Regions from separate parts of the Homo sapiens genome. Here all the other regions are linked to region 4. Evidence: promoter capture Hi-C in 16 types of primary human blood cells and fetal thymus (Javierre and others, 2016). All regions are on one chromosome and are shown on one strand. Each heading gives the region's core, a stretch centred on a gene start or on the middle of the fragment in contact. The rest is flanking DNA. Distances are from core to core; before and after follow the strand shown. Region 1 has its middle 45 kb from the start of HNRNPA0. Region 2 has its middle 6.6 kb from the start of HNRNPA0. Region 3 has its middle 29 kb from the start of HNRNPA0. Region 4 holds the start of MYOT (myotilin). Region 5 overlaps FAM13B (family with sequence similarity 13 member B). Region 6 overlaps FAM13B (family with sequence similarity 13 member B).

Region 1 (3,584 bases), core at 662-3,161, 68 kb after region 4:
ATTATTCTAACATGAAATACACATTGGATAAACACATTTGCAATATTTTTCTTAAGCATTTTAGAGGTTTGTTTCCCATTTTCTTACCTGTCGGAAATGTCTAGCTCTTTTGCTATTCTCATCTTCTGTTGTTTTCTTTCTTCATTTCCATTATTATAATTTTTTAAAGTTTATCTGTCAAGGATGACATGTTAGCCTTCTCTCAAAAAGTCATAACATCCCCCGTTCCTTCTTGGATTATTTATCCACCAGACAATCTGTAGCTTCACTTCAGACACTGATCCCTGGAGTTGGAATCATTGCACAGAGGATTGAGCTTTGGAATCCAGTGGGCACTGAAGGTCACTGAAGAGCCGGAAGGGAGGAGTCAGAAATCTCAGCAGCAGTGACATGAGGTGGAGCTGTTTAAAAGATATTTTCAAAATGTCACTTTCAGTCATCTTGTAGAGATGATAATAAGAGTGCCTCTTGAAAATCTGTGGCATTTTCTGGCATATATATATGTATATATATATATATATATTTTTTTTTTAAATTAGCACGGCCAAAATCAGACATTTAACTTAAATATTCCTGGAAAATTATTAGTAAACATTAATGGTTGTTCTTAGAGCATTTACTGTTAGTTAAGAGATGGACACATAGAGGGCAGCAGCACACACTGGGGCCTTTCAGAGGGTAGTGGGTAGGAGGAGGGACAGGATCAGGAAAAATAACTAATGGGTACTAGGCTTAATATCTGGGTGATGAAATAATCTGTACAAAAAACGCCCATGACACCAGTTTACCTATGTAACAAACCTGCACTTGCACCCCTGAACTTAAAAGTTTAAAAAAAGAGATGGTGCTATTCCAGATTTTGCAGTAATTTATAAGATTAATGAAGATACTTTTGAAATTGAAATTAATGCCAAGTTTCTGAGCAAGTATGTATTATAAATATAAGATTTTTATCAACTACTTTGGAGCTGACAACAGCTGAGCTGCTTATAGACTATAGATGAAAGTGGGGACTAAAAAGCGCTTTTCCTGTATTTGAAAAATTATTACAAGAAGGGGCCTACTTCTCATTTATAAAAGACTCAAAAAGTAAGATTTATATTAAATATAAGAAATATTTCCTTATAGTGAGTGTTTGAAGACTTTAGAAAACAAGGTTGTAGAAGATTGAGTATGGTTGAAAATATTTGTGGCATGGTCTAGTGGATGAGCACACAACATTTTCAAATACTACATTTCCTAAGCCAAGGACTCAGTGATAGAACCCTACATTTTAGGGCCAGGCTGTGTGATTCAATCCTGTTTCCCTACCCAAATACATCAAACTACCCTAAAGAAACTCAAAATTTCCAGGCAGTCAACAACATTGACATTGTGTGTCTGTGTTTTATAGAATCCTGCTGGGTCACTGGCTGGGGGGACTTGCAGGTAGAGTAGGAGTGGGATGTGTACTATGGACGTGAAGCCAATCTCCTCCTCTGTAAGAACCTGAAGAGCAGATACTATCAAAGCAGTTCAGTGGCTTGTATTTCTTTCCCCAGTCAACTTTTAGCAATGTCCCATTACTTATTTACCTGTTTGTATTTAAAATACAGAGAGTAGCAAACTTTGGAAGATTGTAGGGCTATTGGAAAGTACCTTTTCCATATATAGAGTATTGGCAAAAGCTAGTGGTGCCACAGGTTTGGTGGATATTAAGAGATCATTTTAGTTATCTGTGATCATGATGATTTTGAGAGTCAGCTTGAGTGGGAGAGAGCTAGGTCTGAATTTGGATTCTCCAGCATTACCTAGCTGGGTGATCTTGAGCTTCTCTCTAAGCTTTTATTTTTATTTTATTTTATTTTTTGCCATCCAGTTCTACCCCAAAAGGAGGAAGCAATAGATCTTCCTTTAATAACTTCCCAAAGTGTTACAAATAATAAAAACAAGCATAAAGCATCGCTGGGGTGGCTGAACGCGGAGCAGGGAAGGATTTGCTCCTCTGCTCTCTAAGCTTTTGATTCCTTTCCTATAAGGTGAATATAGCCACCTATCCTGCAGGATTATTTTGAAGATTAATGATAGAACATAGTAGATATTCAATAGATAGTAGTTATTACTGTTGCTGTTGTTTAGAATTTCGCTTAGTAGAAACATAAAATTTGAGTTAATAACAGAGTTTATTGTTTATTATTCTAAAGGAAGTCTGTAATGAGTGTGGGAAATTGAGAAATGACAAAACCAGAGTCATTTTTAAAAAAACTTTTAAGGGGATGTTTGGTGTAAATCTGTGTTCTGAGGTGAGGGGTCCACTGTTGTTAACATTTTTGCTCACCTAGGTACACATAGAGAGCTATTATAATCTGATGTAAACAAACGATGAGGAGCTAACACACAATGTCCATTTATTTTTTTTCCTTTTCAAAGACACTTCTTTGTCATCAAGGTTGGGTGTGCTTAGGAATTAAGGTATATATATAAAGGGAAGCCTACTGATTAATACTTCTGTTTTCTCCAGAATCACCAGGAAATACATTAATGCCTTCAAGAAAGATTAAATGGGAAAAAGGAATGTTTGGATGGAAAGACCGAATATTATAAAGATTTTGTTTCTTCCCAAGTTAAATTGTAGATATAATTCAATTTCAATGAAAATCCCAAGAGAGGTTATAAAAAATTACTTATAAAGTATTTGTAAGTGAAAATAGCTTTGAAAAATGGAATAATTAAAATGAAAAGCATGATTAACAACACCAAATATTTTAAAATATTATAAAGTGTGAATAATTAAATCAACGTAATGCTGGGCCAAGAATTAGCAGACAGATCAAGGAATGGAATAGACAGAAATAGACCCTGGTATATATAACGTGTTAATATATGACAGTGAAAGCAGTAAGGATTGCTTTTTTTTTTTTTTTGAGATGGGGTCTCACTCTGTCACTGAGGCTGGAGTGCAGTGGTGTGATCTCAGCTCACTGCAACCTCTGCCTCCTGGGTTCAAGCAGTTCTCCTGCCTCAGCCTCCTGAGTAGCTGGGACTACAGATATGTGCCACCACACCCAGCTAATTTTTGTATTTTTTGTAGAGATGGGGTTTTTCCATGCTGCCCAGGCTGGTCTCGAACTCCTGGCCTCAAGTGATCTGCCCACTTCTGCCTCCCAAAATGCTGGGATTACAGGCGTGAGCCACCGTTCCCAGCCAGCAGTAAGGATTTCTAGGGAAGGAAAGAATTATTAAGTAACTGTTGCTGGAATAGTTAACTAGCTGCTTAGAAAAAATATTAATTTAGTTTCGTACTATACACTAGAATAAATCCCAGGTGAAAGAATTTGAGAAAACAGACTCAAAAAAATATTAGTAGACAATATAAGAAAATACAGAAAATAGGTGGCTCACACCTGTAATCCCAGCACTTTGGGAGGCTGAGGAGGGCGGATCACCTGAGGTCCCAAGTTTGAGACCAACCTGGCCAACATGGTAAAACTTCATCTCTACAAAAAATACAAAAATTAACCAGGTATAGTGGTATGTGCCTATACTCCCAGCTACTCAGGAGGCTGAGGCAGGAGAATTGCTTGAACTCGGGAGGCGGAGGTTGC
Region 2 (3,568 bases), core at 905-3,404, 110 kb after region 4:
CGCCTGGCCCTCCTTCAACATTTCCTTCCATCTGGAGGAGACAAATACAATTCCCTCTTCTAAAAGCCTAGATTTTGCTCTTGAGGCAAGGGAATATACAGGAGAAGAACAAGGTACAATTAACATCACTACAAAATGAATAGGTCTGTTCATTTTCTCACCTCAGGAGAGACCCTTTTAAAGACAATCTTCCTCTTGGGTTTTTTTTTTTTCTCCACAAAAAGCATTTTATTAAAGAGAGAGAGGCAAGTGCCTTTGCATGAAAAAAGGTGGAAGGAACCCCAGTAATGTTGACATTTTTGCCATTCTGACAAGTATGGGGTTCAAATTAAGTCAGACTTAATTTGATTTGATAAAATAAATAGTGTGACTTTTTATACATCATCTTGATGTTATGAGATTTATATCTAAATGCAAGTCATGACTTTTTCCTCTGTAATATCAATTTAAGTACTTCATAATATAGTATTCTTACCTGGAGCACTTAATTGATTCTCTATTTATTAGACAGCTATTTTGGGACAATTAGGTCATTTCCAACTTTTTTTCTAGTATAAACAAATTAAAATAAATATCTTTATAGCTAAATCCTTGTATAGGTCCTGAATTATTTCGCTGTGATAAATTTCTGGAAGTGTAATTGCTGGTTCAAAAGAATGGGCCAAATTTAAAAGCTTTTGATATGAGTTGTTAGGGTCCACTAGAAAAAATATACTTTCACCACAAGTGGCAAAGAATGCCCTTTTGAAATGTTCACCTTGAATAAATAAAAATGGAACCTGTACTAGTTTGCTAGTGCTGCCATAACAAAATATTACAGAATGAGTGGCTTAAACAATAGAAATTTATTTTCTCCTAGTTCTGGAGGCTGGAGGTCAAAGATGAAGTGCTGGCAGTCTGGGGTTCTTCTGAGGCCTCTCCTCCTTGGCTTGCAGATGGTCGTCCCTTTATGCACTTGTGCTCCTGTTGTCTTTCTTATGACACCAGACATATTGAAGTAGGGCCCCACCCTAATGACATCATTTTAATGTAATCACCTCTTTCGAAACCTTATCTTCAATTATGGTTACATTTGGAGGTACTGGGAGTTATGGCTTGAATATATGAATTTGAGCGTGGGGACCAGGGGTGCACAATTTAGTCCATAGCAGAATCCTAACTGTAAAACAAACATGGATCCAATAAAAAGCTAATTTTAAAAAATCACAGTTGCTGCTTTCTGGAAATATAGCTGGCCATAGTCTTTCCTTTCTTTCTCAGTTCATTCTTTCTCTGTCTACGTATAATTTAATATTAAAACACACTCTTTTTAGTGTGTGGTTCTATGACTTGTGTAACCATCACATTCCATTAGCTTTTTGTAATCAAGCTTGCAGGAGGGATGGAAGCCAAAGGCAGTCTAAATTTCAGTTTTATTTTTAAGTGTTTTATTTTGGAAGGCTTAGACACCTGTAAGCGAGTTAAAGAAACAAAGTAAACTCAGGCAGTGATCTAAAAGGCAAAGTAGAAAAAAATAGTTTTTCCTCCTTAATGACGTAGAGTAGGAAATTGACTGCATCATTTAAGTGTTTACATAATACTCCTTTTATTGACTGTCCCTACCTTTACTGATCTAATCTCCAAAAAGAATCTAACATTCTGGCCTGGTGTGGTGACTCATGCCTGTAATCCCAGTACTTTGGGAGCCAGAGGCAGATGGATCACCTGAGGTCAGGAGTTCAAGACCAGCCTGGTCAACACGGTGAAACTCTGTCTCTAATAAATATACAAAAATTAGCTGAGAGTGGTGGCACATGCCTGTAATTCCAGCTACTCAGGAGGCTGAGGCAGGAGAATCGCTTGAACCCTGGAGGCGGAGATTGCACTGAGCTGAGATTGCACCACTGCATTCCAGCCTGGGCGTCAGACTCTTGTCTCAAAAAAACAAACAAACACAAAAAAACTTAACATTCCAGTCATACTGCATATATCCTGGCTTTCTTAATGTCTCTACAACATTCTTGTATTGTCTCTGATCATCCCTATACCCTACTGTATGTAAGGTGTCTAGACCTGACATTTACCTCTGTGAAGCTTTATTAGCCAATAGAAATGAAAACCCTAATGGATCCCCATTTAGGTGGCATAGATCAGGGGTTCCCACCTCCTGGGCCATGGACTGGTATCAGTCTATGGCCTGTTAGGAACTGGGCTGCACAGCAGGAGGTGAGCGGTGGGTGAGCGAGTGAAGCTTCATTTGTATTTACAGCTGCTCCCCATGGCTCACATTACCACCTGAGCTCCGTCTACTGTCACAGCAGCAGCGGGATTAGATTCTCATAGGGCATGAACCCTATTGTGAACTGAACATGTGAGGTATCTAGGTTGTGCACTTCTTATGAGAATCTAATGCCTGATGATCTGAGGTGGAGCTGAGGTGGTAATGCTAATGTGGGGGAGTGGCTGCAAATACAGATTAACATTAGCAGGGAGGTCTGACTGCACAGAGACCATAATAAGTCGCAGACTCATATCAAAACCCTATCAGTGAGTGGCAAGTGACAATTAAGCCGTGGCTGGCAGTAGGCTTTATAGTGGCAAGTGAATTGATGTACTTCAATTGTACAGCTACATCTGGTGGCAGGCTGTCAGAATCTGACACTTAACTTTAGTCTGAGCATGGCCTGCCCATTATTTTATTTACCACTTCCATCCGTGCCTCTTTCCCATGCTATGCACTTGTCTCAGTCATAGTTTTGGTAAGCCCACAAGCTAACCCTAGCCAAAATGAGTAAAAAACAAATGTCACTGGAGAGCTTCTTTGTCAAGGGGGACAGACTGAATGATGAGACATCAGAAGACATTAAGACTTCCATCAAAAACAAAGCTGCATTTAAAAGAAAATACCAAGAGTCCTACTTAAATTACAGGCTCATTGCAACAAGTGATTAACATTCTACAAGCCCACTTTGTATAACATGTGGCAACCGGCTATCCAACAAAGCCATGAAACCTTCAAAACTGCTTCTCCACATGGAAACCTAGCACCTTGCATTAAAACACAAGGCTTTTGAGTTTTTCAAATGAACACAAAGAACAGAAGCAACTGGCCAGGCATGGTGGCTCACACCTGTAATCCCAGCACTTTGGGAGGCTGAGGTGGGTGGATTGCTTGAGGCCAAGAGTTTGAGACCAGCCTGGTCAATATGGTGAAACTCCGTCTCTACTGAAAATACAAAAATTAGCTGGGTGTGGTGGTACGCACCTGTAGTCCCAGCTACTCGGGAGGCTGAGGCATGAGAATCACTTGAACCCAGGAGGCAGAGGTTGCAGTGAGCCAAGATTGCACCACTGCACTCCAGCCTGGGTGAAAGAGAAAGACCCTGTCTCAAAAACAAGCAAACAAAAAACCAGAAGCAATTATTGAAGGCCACCACTTCATCAAATGTATCTGCACTGAGAGCATCATTCTTAGTGGCTAACTGCATTGCTAAAGCTAAGAAGCCCTTTACCGTTGGTGAAGAATTGTTCCTGCCTGCTGCTAAGGACATTTATCATGAACTTTTAGGAGAGGCTGAAGTTCAAAAGG
Region 3 (3,346 bases), core at 162-2,661, 85 kb after region 4:
TTCATTTCAACCTTGGTGAATCTGATGATTATGTGTCTTGGGGTTGCTCTTCTCGAGGAGTATCTTTGTGGTATTCTCTCTATTTCCTGAATTTGAATGCTGGCCTATCTTGCTAGGTTGGGGAAATTCTCCTGGATAATATCCTGCAGAGTGTTTTCCAACTTGGTTCCATTCTCCCTGTCACTTTCAGGTACACCAATCAAATGTAGATTTGGTCTTTTCACGTAGTCCCATGTTTCTTGGAGGCTTTGTTTGTTCCTTTTTATTCTTTTTTCTCTAATCTTGTCTTCTCACTTTATTTCATTAAGTTGATCTTTAATCTCCGATATCCTTTCTTCCTTGATTGATTGGGCTGTTGATACTTGTGTAGGCTTCACGAAGTTCTCGGGCTGTGTTTTTCAGCTACGTCAGGTAATTTATGTTCTTCTCTAAGCTGTTTATTCTAGTTAGCAATTCCTCTAACCTTTTTTCAAGGTTCTTAGCTTCCTTGCACTGGGTTAGAACATGCTCCTTTAGCTCAGAGGAGTTTGTTATTACCCACTTTCTGAAGCCTACTTCTGTGAATTCGTCGAACTCTTTTCTCTGTCCAGTTTTCTTCCCTTGCTGGTGAGGAGTTGTGATCCTTTGGAGGAAAAGAGTTGTTCTGGTTTTTGGAATTTTCAGCCTTTTTGTGCTGTTTTTTCCCCATCTTTGTGGATTTATCTAACTTTGGTCTTTGATGTTGGTGACCTTTGGATGGGGTCTCTGAGTGGACGTGCTCTTCCTTTCCGTTTGTTAATTTTTCTTCTAACAGTCAGGCCCCTCTGTTGCAGTTCTGCTAGAGTTTGCTGGAAGTCCACTCCAGACCTTGTTTGCCTGGCTATCACCAGCAGAGGCTGCAGAACAGCAAAGATTGCTGCCTGTTCTTTCCTCTGGAAGCTTCGTCCCAGAGGGGCACCTGCCAGTTGCCAGCCAGAGCTCTCCTGTATGAGGTGTCTGTCAGCTCCTACTGGGAGGTATCTCCCAGTCAGGATACACGGGTGTCAGGGACCCACTTGAGGAGGCAGTCTGACCCTTAGCAGAGCTCGAACGCTGTGCTGGGAGGTCTGCTGCTCTCTTCAGAGCCATCAGGCAGGGATGTTTAAGTTTGCTGAGGCTGCGCCCACAGCCACCTCTTCCCCCAGGTGCTCTGTCCCAGGGAGACGCTGGTTTTATCTATAAGTCCCTGACTTGGGATGCTGCCTTTTTTTCAGAGATGCCCTGCTCAGAGAGGAGAAATCTGGCAGTCGGGCCACAGTGGCCTTGCTGAGCTGCCTGAGACAATTGTTCTTGGCTACAAGGATCAATAACAAGAGTGGTACTAGTCAAAGGTTGCACAGGCAGTTGCTGGGCAGATGTCCTCACAAAAGTATTTTTTTGTGTATAAGTTTGTGATGGCCTTTGTGCAAAGTTGTGGTTTTTTTCAGGGTCTTTTGTAATAGTTCTTGTTATCAGGCACTGTGCGTGAGAACCCTCTTTTCATGGGCTTCCCTGGCTCTTGACAGAGGCTTTAACACATGTGACTTCATTTGATTCTGACAACTTTCACAGTTCTTGGGTACTTCATGTATGTTATGCTAGCATAGTTGGTATTTTTGAGTTTTTTTATTTTTTGATTCTAATGTGTAGAAATACAACTGATTTTGCAAATTTGTGTCATCTTGCTAAAATGTCTCAGTAATTTAGTAATTTATCCTTAGATACTCTTAAATTTTTCACATTCGTGATCCTATCATCTACAAATAATGATAGTTTTGTTTCTCTTTCCAATTCCTATTCTTGTTTTGTTTTTTTTTCATATACTTGCCTTACTAGGCTGGCTAGGCCCTCTAGTACACTGTTAAATAAAAGTGGTGTTAACAGGCATTATTTAAAGGCAAAGCTTTAAACATCTCACTGTACTTGTAGTAAATATTACACTTAATGTCCTCACAGAAGTATTTTTGTTTGTATAAGATTTTGATGGCCTTTGTGCAAGGTTGTGGTTTTTTCAGAGTCTTTTGTGATAGTTCCTGTTGTCAGGCATTGTGCATGAATATTTATTTATAGTGTTTCAGACTAAGAAAATTATCTTTTTTTTCCCAGTTCATTAAGAGTCTTTAAAAAATATTGAATATTTGTTTTTATCAAATACACTTTCAATCATTATTAGGTTGTTCATGTTTCTTCTTCTATTCTGTTATTGTAGGTAACAGTATTAATTGATTTTCTTCTCCTAAATCAACTTTGTATTATTTAGACAAACCCATGTTTTATCCTTTTTAAATATTATCCCTTTTTATCCTTTTTCTATATTGCTATTTTCTGTGTGCTAATATTTTGTTTAGGAAATTTGCATTTATGATTTTTAGTCAGCTTACCTGTAAGTTCCCTTTTTCTTACTGTCCTTAGTGGAGTTTTTTTTTTTTTTTTTTGAGATGGAGTCTTGCTCTGTCACCCAGGCTGGAGTGCAGTGGTGTGATCTCGGCTTACTGCAACCTCTGCCTTCTGAATTCAAGTTATTCTCCTGCCTCAGCCTCGTGAGTAGCTGGGATTACAGGTGTGCCTTACCATGCCTGGCTAATTTTTGTATTTTTAGTAGAGACAGGGTCTCGCCATGTTGGCCAGGCTGATCTCGAACCCTGGCCCCAAGTGACTCCCAAAGTGCTGGGATTACTGGTGTGAGCCACCACACCGGGCCTCCTTAGTGGATTTTGATATCAGAGTTATGATAGCATCATCGAACGAGTTAGAGAAAATACTCCCTTTTTCTGTTTTCTGAAAGGGTTTGTATTATTGGTCTCATTTCTCCCTTGAATGTTCATAGAACTTGCTGGTAGAGTCTGGGCCTATAGTTTTCCTTTTGGGAAGATTTTTGGGAAAAACTGAATGCTTGTAGGGTGAATTAGTTACTATTGGCTTCATTTGGTAATTTACAGCAATAAAGAGATGAGCTCAAAAAAGAATTGGCTTATTTGCAAGTAGAAAAGGAATTTAATTATTTAATTTGAAAGGAAATTAAGAGAGCACAGAAATTCAGTACTTGCAGGTTTGGAAGATACAAGTGATTCTCATTTCCAGATGGTAAAAGAGAAAACTGAGAAGGCCTTTGAATATTAAAGTCTGATTAAAAATGCTTAGCTGCTTAAGCAAGGATCCCTTGAGGATGTGACCATACAGTCATTGTTAAAAACCTCTGGATGAGTTAAAGTAGTGTTTATTAAGTCCTTTTAGCTTGACAAAATGGTCAAGTAAAAGAAAATAAGAATGCTATCAAACCTGATAGGTTTAAGTATCTGAACTAACTTAAATGAGGGAGAATTGTTTTCAAAAGAATTGTAGGTATGGC
Region 4 (3,398 bases), core at 300-2,799:
CTGATTTTTTTTCCATTAGTATGGTAAACCTAAGCGGGACTATATATAGACATTACACACAAAGACTAGTCCTATAAATTGTTTTCACACTAATCCTGTTTTCATTGAAAATATCAGATAAATTGATTCAAAATACATTTGCCTATTTTGTTTCATCTGGTATAAGCCAATACTGAGATAATGACAAATCAAACTTTTAACTGAAAAATTAACCAAATTGTTTGTCATCATTGAAACGAAGTCTTCTAATTATTTTAGTTACTGTCTTGGATAAAATGTTAATAAAACTTTTCCAGACCAAAGAGTTTCATCCTAAATAATAGGATACCTTCAAAAAATAGTATTTCAAAGTTGCCTATGTAGTTTAGAGTTAAATTAAAACTAGCAATTTTAGGAAAAAACAGAAATGCAACTAAACAGCCAAGAGAAAGACGCTATTGAGAAAGAATACTTAAAAAGTTAAATATTCCTTAATTTCAAGTTTATGAACACAAATACATTAAACTAGAATGCATTTTAGAAATGAACTACTTTAGGCATTTAAATTGTTGGGGAAAAACATCCTGAAGGAGGGCCTTGAGTAGATCTAAAAAAAAAGTCTATTTCAAGGCAAGTAGTTTTGTAGTTATCGGTTTATTCAGTCTGTTGCAGAATTGAATCCAGAGTTTGATTCCTAAATTTCTTTCTGGGCAGGTACATTATTGAGACTCATTTCAGATAGCAAGGAATAAACCGCTTATGAAATAGTAGATATTTTCCAGAAACAGTTCTCTTTTTTTCTTTACATATATTTTCAGAATGGCAACTGTCTTGTACATGTTGATATTGGCCTACATTGTTAATAATTAGTGATATTTTTAAAAGCCCAATTAAAAATATGTTATTTCATAAGTTTCATTTTATCCATGTGTCAAAATTTTATGCAGACATTTACGCAGGTGATCCTGTATTTTCTTTATGTTTGTAGTTACTGTTCAACAATTTAATTCTATAATAGATTCTGTTATATGACAGGGTCATTTTATTCCAAATAATGTTAAATGAATTTCAAAGATTTTTATAAATAAAGTACTATTCAGTCTCCTTTTTAAAAAATCTTAACATTTTTTTCCTGTCTCTAATATAGCATAGACTTGCACAGAAGACTGATAGAGGATATGTTGCGTTCATAAGACATCACCACAATTACATCAGATCAAGTGTCCCTTTTCAAGGAAAAATGGTGATTTAAAAATAATGACACACAGCTATCTTTCCTTCTATCATTTGTATAATGCCTTCCAGTCTCAATGAAATGAATGAGTCGCTTTCTCTTTAAATTTTTGTGTAATACCATTATAATGTTGTGGCTTTCAAACTTTTTATCTGAAAATCATCTTTGTATACACTCATCTGATTTGGACAAAAAACAAAAACAAGACCTAAAAGTGTAGTAGGAATAAAGAAGGGACTTACCCGTAGTTCCAGAGGGTGCCAGCTGGGTTTAACCCACTATTGAAGGGAAGGAAGAGGCATCTCCTTCCCTCACAGACTAATCTAGTGGCTCTGTGCTTAGTATTATAGCACCACTGACTTTTATCAGCTGCCAAACAGTGACATCTGATGTGCTTGCCTGTCCATCTACCTATGCTGGCATGTCAAAGTAAGAGTCCACAATCTAAACAATATCTCACGTGTCTTAGTGGTATTTAAGGAGTGGGATTACATGAGCTTCTTTTGCAAGCCTCTTTATTTCAGACGTGAATTTTGACTATGAACTTTAGCAAGCTCATGTGAGGGAAGGGCAGTGAATAGGGAAATGGGAAAAATAGAAAAAAAACCCTCTTATTTCTTTATTATGGTGGGGACTTTGAATTTTCCCAGTTTAAGAGAGAGGACTAAAGGGAAAATAATATTTCAAGAGTGGAGTTCTTCTATCTATTATACTAAGACTTCTCCAGGAATAAGACCAGTGATAGATGGGCTCCCAATTGATTTGTATTGCATAATTCTTCATCTGAAGTCTTTTTTCTTTTGCCTAATGAGAGTAGGATTCAATAATAGATTTGAGGTCTCTCAGTACTAGCAGTTTGTTCCGAGGTGGAGGGCAGTCTGGGCAAAGCAGGAGACCGAGGTCATAGTGACATGTCACTGGGAAGGTAGGGAGGTGGAAAAACATGATGGTGTTTCTTGAGCAAGTTTTCTGAATCTGTATGGCATATGCCCCTTTTGCCTAGTACTTTTATTCTGAAAGAGTTTTGAAACACTTAAGAAACAACCAAACAAATAAGCAATCTATATAATTAGAGCTGTCAATGCATGTTCATCTCCCTTTATTCCTAACAGTTAGTTTCCTTTCACTTTTTGTCACAGAGACCATCATGGTATTTAGATTTCCATTTTTGTGCAGGGAAGTAAATAATTGCAGAAGAATAAAATGTCGAATCAGCAAATGTGGTGAAGTAGGGTAGGTGGCATGAGGATTGGGCCAAGGGAGTAGAATTATCTCCATGGGGTGGCTTCAGTTCCCCTCCCTCATGGGTAGATACCCCAATCTTGATTGAATTAACATGTATATTAGAATCCAGCAAATAGATGTTTGAGCACATATGAGCCATATAAAATCCTTCACAGCTGGCCAAGTAGGTGTACCTTTCTTTGGTGTTCAAAGAAAGCTTGATAATTTCTGCCTGGGCGTGCAGCCCTTAGTAGAAAAAGCATGCTAGACTTGGTGAGTAGGTGGTTGCCTACAAAGTCTTATTTCAGGAGTCTCCCAAAATATTCTTCAACATCTGTTCACTGATATTTCAAATTCCAGTAATACAGACAAAACCTTTCCATCTAAATTAGAGAGACTTAAAATACAAATGCAAGTGATAGGATAAAAGTAATAATAGCCAATATATAGCATTTATTATGAGTAAGACACTCCTTCAAGCATTTTATTTTATTATTAGTTTTTTTTTAGAGACAGGGTCTTACTCTGTCACCCAGGCTGGAGTGCAGTGATATGATCAGAACTCACTGCAGCCTCAAACTCCTGGGCTCAAGAGATCCTTCCTCTGCAGACTTTCAAGTAGCTAGGGCTATAGGCATGCAGCACTATACCCAGCTAATTTTAAAATTTTTTGGACAGACAGAGTTTCGCTATGTTGCCCAAGCTGGTCTCAAACTCCTTGCCTCAAGCGATCCTCCACGTCGGCTTCTCAAAGCACTGGAATTATAGGCATAAACCACATGCCCAGCCTATCTATTCTAAGCAATTTTAAATGTGGTATATGTGACTGACATTTGGTTCTGCTGGAGAACAGGGTTTGATTAGGGCATGGAAAAGGAAATAATAGATTTGAGGTCTCTCTGCACTAAAAGTTTGAGGTATACCTCACCAGCCAAGTAGGGAAGACATCCAGGACAACCTG
Region 5 (3,682 bases), core at 729-3,228, 120 kb before region 4:
GTTATAAAAACACATTATTAAATGAAGCCATTTTGGTACATAGTTGCACACGTTGTTTATGCTTACACATATAAAGACAATTTCTGATATTATTTTCTAATCTTAATGAGCACCAATGATTTCACAACAGTCCATTGTATTTATCCTGGTCCATTTTATATATTCATTTGCTGATATTTCTTTCTTAAAAATAATTCTGCAAATATAGTAAAATGTTAATTATAGACTTTAAATGTTGGGGCTATAGGTGTTCTTATACAGTTTATTTTCACTTTTCTGTATTTTTGAGAAGTTTTATAATATTGGAAAAATGCTACAGAGAATACTTTATGGTATAAAATCCATCCTCCCCTTTTGTATCTAGGATAAATTGTGGTAGATTTGATAAACCCTTTTTGATAGAGTCTCAGACTTTCTGAGTCAAAGTGTGTGCACATTTTTAGAGCTCTTTGAAATGCATTACTAAATAGATTTCCATAAGAAATTTTTACTCATTAACCTTCCCACTAGCAACATGCATGCCAGTTTCATAGCCTTTGTCAATATACTATATTGACATCAGCAGAAATATATATAAATTTTATTTTAATCCTTATTTGTTTATTTTTTTTGAGATGGGGGTCTCGCTATGTTGCCCAGGGTGGCCTCAAACTCCTGGGCTCAAGTGATCCTCCTGACTCAGCCTCCTGAGTAGCTGGGACTTGAGGCATGAGCCACTGGCACCTGGCTCCTTATTTTAAACTTGTATATCTAGTTAGGTTGATTATTTTTCTTTTTGGTTATTTAATTCTTTATGAAATATCTTGTATCCATTTACCTACTAACATTTTATTGATAATCTAATCTGACAAAAAAGGGTGAGAAAATTCCTCTGGGAAAATGAGCAGATGACTAACAAGGGCAAATCTGAGAAAGAACAGAGAGGATATAAGCCCTACCAAGAATTAAAACATTATATAAAGCTTTAGTAACAGACTGATGAAGTAAGTAGTTGAGAATTAGAGAGCTTCTTCAGGATTTGGTATAAGATAAAGCAAAAGCTTACCAGAGATCACAAATTAAATGGCTAAGAGTGTTCAATTTATAGATTTTTCCCCACACCATTCAGTATGCCACATTGTCAGTGGATTATAATTAGATATTAAAAATAAAATGAATATTTCTCGATAGGCAAGGAATTATCTAAGTTTAGTAGAGATTGCAAATATTATCAAGGAAAATAAAACAGATCGCACCACATAAAGATTTAACTTTTGTAATTTAATAGCAGCTGATCACCGAAATGTAAATATGTAAGCAATAGTGTATTAGAGCAAAATATCAGAAAATGATTTAATATCCTAGTTCATGTTAAGACTCTTCAGGGAAAGCCTCATTTATCTTTTTACTTTTTGTTTTTTTTCTACAGAAATCAATAAATATTTAACTTTTAGCTCACAGGAAACCGCTAGAAATAAACTGATGATGGCTACACTCTTCTTTGTACCATGTTTTGGGGTTTTTTCCCCCCAGCTTTTTTGGATTTCAGAAATGAAGTTCCAAAAAACTTTAGTTGTTTTATTTTTCTTTCTTTTTTTTGAGACAGGGTGTCTTTCTGTCACCCAGGCAGGAGTGCAGTGGCACGACCACAGCTCACTGCAACCTCCCTGGGCTCAAGCGATCTTCCTGCCTCAGCCTCCTAAGTAGCTAGGACTACAGGCATGCACCATCATCATGCCTGGCTGATTTTTATTTTTTTTGTAGAGATGGGATCTCGCTATGTTGCCCAGGCTGGTCTTGAATTCCTGGTTTCAAGTGAACCTCCAGCTTCGGTCTCCCAAAGTGCTGGGATTACAGGCATGAACCACTACACCTAGTCAGAAAAATCTTTAAGTGTGAATATTGGTAAACACTTCCCTGGAGACGATCAGCATGAAGGCCTTTAGAACCATAAATAATCCATTCATTGGAAACTAGCATGATACTGGCAGTTAACAAAAAATATTTTTATATGTAGGAGGGGTTATGTGTGTCAGACCAAGAGGGCTTACTGTTGTTTGATAAAGCATTTGTTCACTTCGCTACTGAGAGACATGAAGATTGCTGAGTGAATGAATGGTAAATGATACTCATTTGGTTTCCTGCAGTGGATCCTGACAATACTAACTTCATAGCGTTTGTTCTGCATTTTGGTTAGAGATTGTATTGCCACATTTTGGAGGATCTTCATAAAACTAATTTACGTTTAAAAAATGACAAGGTAGCTACAGATGTGGTGTTCAGGTCAAGAAGGCAGGGTCACTCCTCCCTATGGCTAAGTGTTGGCTGTGATGATGTGCTTAGGCACACAGTGCCATTTAAACATACCTTATCTTTTATCTGATAAATGATTTTTTAAAAATTACCTGTATTCATCAATGGCTAATACTACTGTTCACCTAAATCCAGTACAACTAATTTTCCCTCCAGCTTTGGAAATAGATCAGTTTTTCTCCACCTGAGCACCAGAGAAAGTAGTTGTCCCACTCTCACCCCCACAAGTATATATATTTGGGGGTCTTTTTGTGTGAAAAATAGTTTCTTTAGAAAATTAGGTTCATCATCTGTGAGAGGTGCTCATGCTGTGGTGTGTGTTTTTGTTTTTAGTCACTTTTTTTTGTTGTAGAAGGCAGTAGAGCATCTTTGTTAATAGCAGGGGCTTTGGGGTACCCAACCCATGGCCATATGCATTTGGCCAAGTTAATTAACATCTTTGAGCTTCACTTTTGTGGAAAGGGGGAAATAATTGTAACTCCTTGGGTATTGAAAGTTATTAAATGAGAGATAAATGCATGTAATGGTCCTAGCTCATAATGAATTCTAACTTTAAAATTTTTGGTCTTGTTAGTGATACGTTTTTCCAAATTTATTTTCTTTGGTTAATATTTGAAAGCTTTACCAACCAGATTCAGAAAATATTTCCAACTTGATATGTAAACAAGAATACAACACTTAGTATGTGCTCTCCTGGTTGTGTCAAGGTAGTGCAAATATGGCAGATTTCAGCACATTTTGTAGTTATTAAGTATTGAACATTTTTATAGCTAATTTCTTTCTTTGATTGCAGCACCCATATATCTCCCATCAGCATCCTACCAGCCTCTACAGAGTAAGTAGTATATTTATAGAAGACAAATTTTTAAGATTTTAAAATACTACTAAGCTGTAGAAATGAAAATAATGTACTTGTGCTCACTTTAGAGGAAAGACTGTACACAGGCAGTAAACTAGTTTTTTATGTACTGTGATAGGAACAAATGAAGAAGAAACCCATTGCATTACTATACAAAATAAAGATGAGCTTTCTTCAGATGGTTTTTTTGAATCCTCTGAAATAATTGAAAAATGTTCATAGAATATAAGTTTTAAAAAAGTAGACTTTACATAAGAAGTGTGAGCAGTACTCATGGTTTCTTTCATTTTGCTGTTAGTAGGTTATTTTGCTTTATAAGTATAGCTTTGAAAAGCCTTATTTAGTGGTTTTCTGTGTAGTGAGGAGTGAATTATAGGGACAACTGATCTTTCCCATCCCAGTAATAATAGTGACATTATGGTTGATTTGTATATGATTGTCTGTTTGGGTAAATTTTACTTTTAAAACTTAAGCCAGTATCATGTATTCCTTTTATGTATTTCTTTTTACACTTTGGTTTACCCATTTAAG
Region 6 (3,719 bases), core at 395-2,894, 94 kb before region 4:
AAGAAGAATCAGAGAGTCTAGGAAGTATGGAACCTTTTGTTGATTTGAAAGGTGATCATCAAAAACACCACAACGTTCATGTATTTTGTAGTAATTCTCTGGGTATTTGTATTAGACTTGGTAGGTTTTTAGTTTGGGGGGGAATAGGGATGAGATGGTGTCACTAAGCTCGTTGGAAAATGGGAGAGTTTTCTCATGTGGGGACTTTCTTTGTGGAAAATAGTTATTACTTCAAATATACAAAGGAATCTAGTGAACTCCTCTATGACTCCTATCTTACCTACAAGAAGTCACCAAACTTGTATCTTTGTAGCTGAGGAGAAATAAAGCAAGCAGCAGTTGGCAAGCAGGATCAGAAGACCATCATTTTGGAGGAGATAATTCTAAGGAAGAAGGATGGTAGTGGTGATACATATTACCTAATAGAGAGAAATGCAGAGTACCTGCTATACTTCATATGACCCAGGTTTTGAGGGAAGATAAATTACTCTCTGTAAAAAGAGATGCTAAGTACTACAGACTATTATAAATGATAGCTAATTAGGGGTGTTTGACTAATCTGTATTCTAATATCCTAATTTAGATTGGCAACTTCTCTTATCTGAGTATTGGGAGCTCCATTAATACATGGTAGTGTTCTTTTTGTCAGTCTGTAGGTATATTGTTAGAGCCATGCAGTGACCGTGGTGATAGTGAAGATGGCTGTCTTGAGAGGTAAGCATTTTTTCTTGTTGCTAATTAATCATTTTGAGAATTGGAGCTCTTCACAGATTTTTGAGGTGATTTTTTTAGATGAATGTCCATTATAAATATATAGTTTAGATAATCTTAAACAGCCTTCTTGTTATAATGGTAGGCATAAAGGATATTAAATACCCATAAATGTTTGGATTTGTACAGGTTCAGACAGTAGTTATAACTTGGAAAACATTCAGAGGGAAAAACAGCCTTTTTGGAGACATTTAAATCTTTCAGTTGATTGTGGAACAATTGGGAATTTACTGATATTCTGAGTATACCTGTCAGTGAGTTAATTCATGATCTTGTAACTGTGTATAACTAACTGAGAGATACTGTATTTGATTCAACAAATATGTATAGGATGTTTTTCTTCCTCTTTGAATTTATCCTTGGTGTGTCTCAGTACACTCTTAGGCAGCTGGTGCTTTTTTAACCTCTTTGGCTGGCTGTAATGGTAGAGAAATACTGGAGGCAATGAGTATTTCGACTAATGTAGAGTCTCAATAGATAGCCTCTTTGAATAGAAGCTTTCTAGAATGTTTTAAATCACAGAGTAAGATTTGGGTTCTTGTTACCCTTTGCATCAGTCTTCAAGATGCTGCCAAAAAGTATAACTTTCTTAGGAAGGTGATTTGAGATTCTGAAAACACTTCAGTAATGAAGTTGCAGGCTAGATTGTAAATATTGAGAGATCCCAGACAGTATACTAATTTGCTGACAGCCTGTTGGCCAGGACATATTTGTATTCTATTGTTTCTTTTAATTATAAGTAGGAAGCCTGTTCTTTAAGGGTAAGCAAATTCTTTGGAGCCACGTCTCTGGAGCCTCCCCATACTCTGAAGGTCCACAGATTTCCTTATAGCAGTTCCTTGTCCTTCCTTTCAGGAGGCAGGAATCATCCTCTTCCAGCCCAGGAAGTATTGGAGCTATGGGCTGAAGATATAAAATTAACAACATTAACAGGCACCCCCAGAATAGTGACATCTGGATTTGGTAGAACAATAAGGACCCATTTAGTGAGGACTCTTCTGTTGTTGTTGTTGTTGTTGTTGTTGTTGTTGTTTTTGGAAAAAGCTCTCTCCTCTTCAACTTCAACTGTGTATAAGTTAGCAAACTGGTTTTTAGATCCAGAGTACCTTGGTTAGGTGGATTACATTTTGTATGTTTAACATTCATGCTTCTCAAATGTAGGTGATTAGGTCTTTTAGGCTGCTAAGGTAGTAATTACTCATCCTACCATTTGCTCCTACTCTAAGCAAAGGAATGCCTTTAAGCTTAACAGAGCATTTAGTTCATTTCTTATTCTCAGCAAGAATAAGGTAATTATCTGTATGAGAAGATGACTTGCAATATTTAGATCAAGGCATGTCTCCTGAGTGCATACTCTGTTATGGCCGGTTAGAAGTGACATCTCGATGTGTCATTGTAAATTGCCACTGTGTCTTTGGGGAAAAGAACTTTCCCCCAGTAGGCATATTGATAATCTACTGTATAATAGCAGGTGCTCTCTTGACTGGTAAAATAGGTACAGATCACTTACGACAGCTTGCTATAACACTTGTTCTAAATAAGGGTTAGTTTTTCTGGGGAAGTAAAAGGTGGACTGAAATTTTTTAAAATTTCCTTTTAGTATGTTACTGTTATATTTTGAGGAGGGAAAGGTTTGGAAGTAGTAACCTTCTCTGATTGGAAGTAGTATCCTTGTGATAGAATACAGTCAAGTTTAAAGTAAAAGACATAGTGATACCTTTTTAAAAAGTTTTCTTTGAAAGTCTCAAGAATGGAGAGAATAGAGCTGTTTATTTGGTTAAAACATTTATTTTATAAAATCTTTATTATACATTCATTCTTTTGGGTTTCTACTTACTGTGGATTTTAGTTTTCATTTTATAAAGGTTTTTCTTTTTTGCTGTGGTTTGTGGGGTGGAGTAGGGATTGTTACTTGATTTTTCTAAACCCGAAGTGATTCTGTGGATCTTTTCAGTATTGTGTGATTTTTCAGATATAGGGCTCCAAAGAATGGGCATGTGTCCAGTTGGCATTTTCTCCTCGCACATTGTAAATGCTAACTGTGTTATGGAGTAGAGGAATCTAGGTAAGAAATATATAATGATAGTAGCCTTTTTATTCTTAATATACTAACAACTTTACTTGTATTTTTAGGGAAGAATATTTGTTATTTGACAGTGATAAATTGTCACACTTGATTCTGGTAAGAACTATTTTTTTGTCTTAGTCTTTAAAAACTTGCCTAGGTTTAAACTGTTATGTCTGGTCTTTAATGTGGGTTAGCTAGGTTTAAAGATTTAAATATAAATACTCTTACCAAATATTTTACAGTTAAACAGCAACTTAATTTGCCACTTTTGGTTACAAGAGACTTGGTTGTGAAAACACTTTCCTGAATTTGGGATCCAAACTTGTCTTCCAATAAGACATATTCTAAAACTGCATGTTTATATTTGAAAATAGTTTGCACAGTGGGAGTGGGACAGTTGGCTGTATAGGCACAGTAAACTAATGAAGACTACACTTGGATATGTGCTGGATGTGTTTAAGCTGGGTGTGAAAAGCTTCCGTAGTTGTGAAATATATTCTTTATTTTAAAATACAGGATTCTAGTAGCAAGATATGTGATTTGAATGCCAACACTGAATCAGAAGTACCAGGAGGTCAGAGTGTTGGTGTTCAAGGGGAAGCAGCGTGTGTCAGTATTCCACATTTAGATCTGAAGAATGTTTCTGATGGTGATAAATGGGAAGGTAATTTTACCCACACGCATTATTTTCCTGATAATGTTACTTGTAACCGAAATTACCCTAAGCAATGATAAGACTACAGCCCTTTTCTGGATAACCTTATTCATCTTGATCTTCTGTTCTCCCTTTCATGTAAGATGAACAAGTGGGTGTTTTTAGTGAAACACACTGAGATTTTGGGGCAGCATCTCATATGAACTAGAAGTTCTTGTCTGATCC

The links. The method cuts DNA at HindIII sites, captures the fragments that hold promoters and counts their contacts. A CHiCAGO score of 5 or more calls a contact.
Region 1: a fragment that was not itself captured here is called in contact with the fragment with the promoter of MYOT in region 4 in 1 of 17 cell types (M1 macrophages); the score reaches 5.5 in M1 macrophages.
Region 2: a contact is called between a fragment that was not itself captured here and the fragment with the promoter of MYOT in region 4, in 1 of 17 cell types (M1 macrophages). The highest score is 5.6, in M1 macrophages.
Region 3: a contact is called between a fragment that was not itself captured here and the fragment with the promoter of MYOT in region 4, in 1 of 17 cell types (M2 macrophages). The highest score is 5.3, in M2 macrophages.
Region 5: a contact is called between a fragment that was not itself captured here and the fragment with the promoter of MYOT in region 4, in 2 of 17 cell types (total B cells and naive B cells). The highest score is 5.8, in total B cells.
Region 6: a contact is called between a fragment that was not itself captured here and the fragment with the promoter of MYOT in region 4, in 1 of 17 cell types (total B cells). The highest score is 5.1, in total B cells.

The regions. Positions count from the first base shown.
Region 1 is chr5:137,797,956-137,801,539 of GRCh38, reverse strand. It overlaps the pseudogene NPY6R. Among named protein-coding and RNA genes, the nearest start is that of HNRNPA0, 45 kb to the right of the region's middle. The HindIII fragment of the contact is 175 bases long and covers 1,824-1,998 here.
Region 2 is chr5:137,759,195-137,762,762 of GRCh38, reverse strand. No RefSeq gene overlaps it. Among named protein-coding and RNA genes, the nearest start is that of HNRNPA0, 6.6 kb to the right of the region's middle. The HindIII fragment of the contact is 157 bases long and covers 2,076-2,232 here.
Region 3 is chr5:137,781,316-137,784,661 of GRCh38, reverse strand. No RefSeq gene overlaps it. Among named protein-coding and RNA genes, the nearest start is that of HNRNPA0, 29 kb to the right of the region's middle. The HindIII fragment of the contact is 982 bases long and covers 921-1,902 here.
Region 4 is chr5:137,866,011-137,869,408 of GRCh38, reverse strand. It overlaps MYOT (myotilin), which reads right to left and starts at 1,549. Exons shown (of 10, transcript NM_006790.3): 1 at 1,456-1,549. The region is part of intron 2 of PKD2L2-DT (PKD2L2 divergent transcript); the gene reads left to right. The HindIII fragment of the contact is 5,979 bases long and covers 1-2,656 here.
Region 5 is chr5:137,987,719-137,991,400 of GRCh38, reverse strand. It overlaps FAM13B (family with sequence similarity 13 member B), which reads left to right. Exons shown (of 24, transcript NM_001385994.1): 8 at 3,086-3,127. Among named protein-coding and RNA genes, the nearest start is that of FAM13B-AS1, 43 kb to the left of the region's middle. The HindIII fragment of the contact is 1,871 bases long and covers 1,043-2,913 here.
Region 6 is chr5:137,959,400-137,963,118 of GRCh38, reverse strand. FAM13B (family with sequence similarity 13 member B) reads left to right here. Exons shown (of 24, transcript NM_001385994.1): 11 at 650-714; 12 at 2,905-2,953; 13 at 3,356-3,503. Among named protein-coding and RNA genes, the nearest start is that of FAM13B-AS1, 72 kb to the left of the region's middle. The HindIII fragment of the contact is 747 bases long and covers 1,271-2,017 here.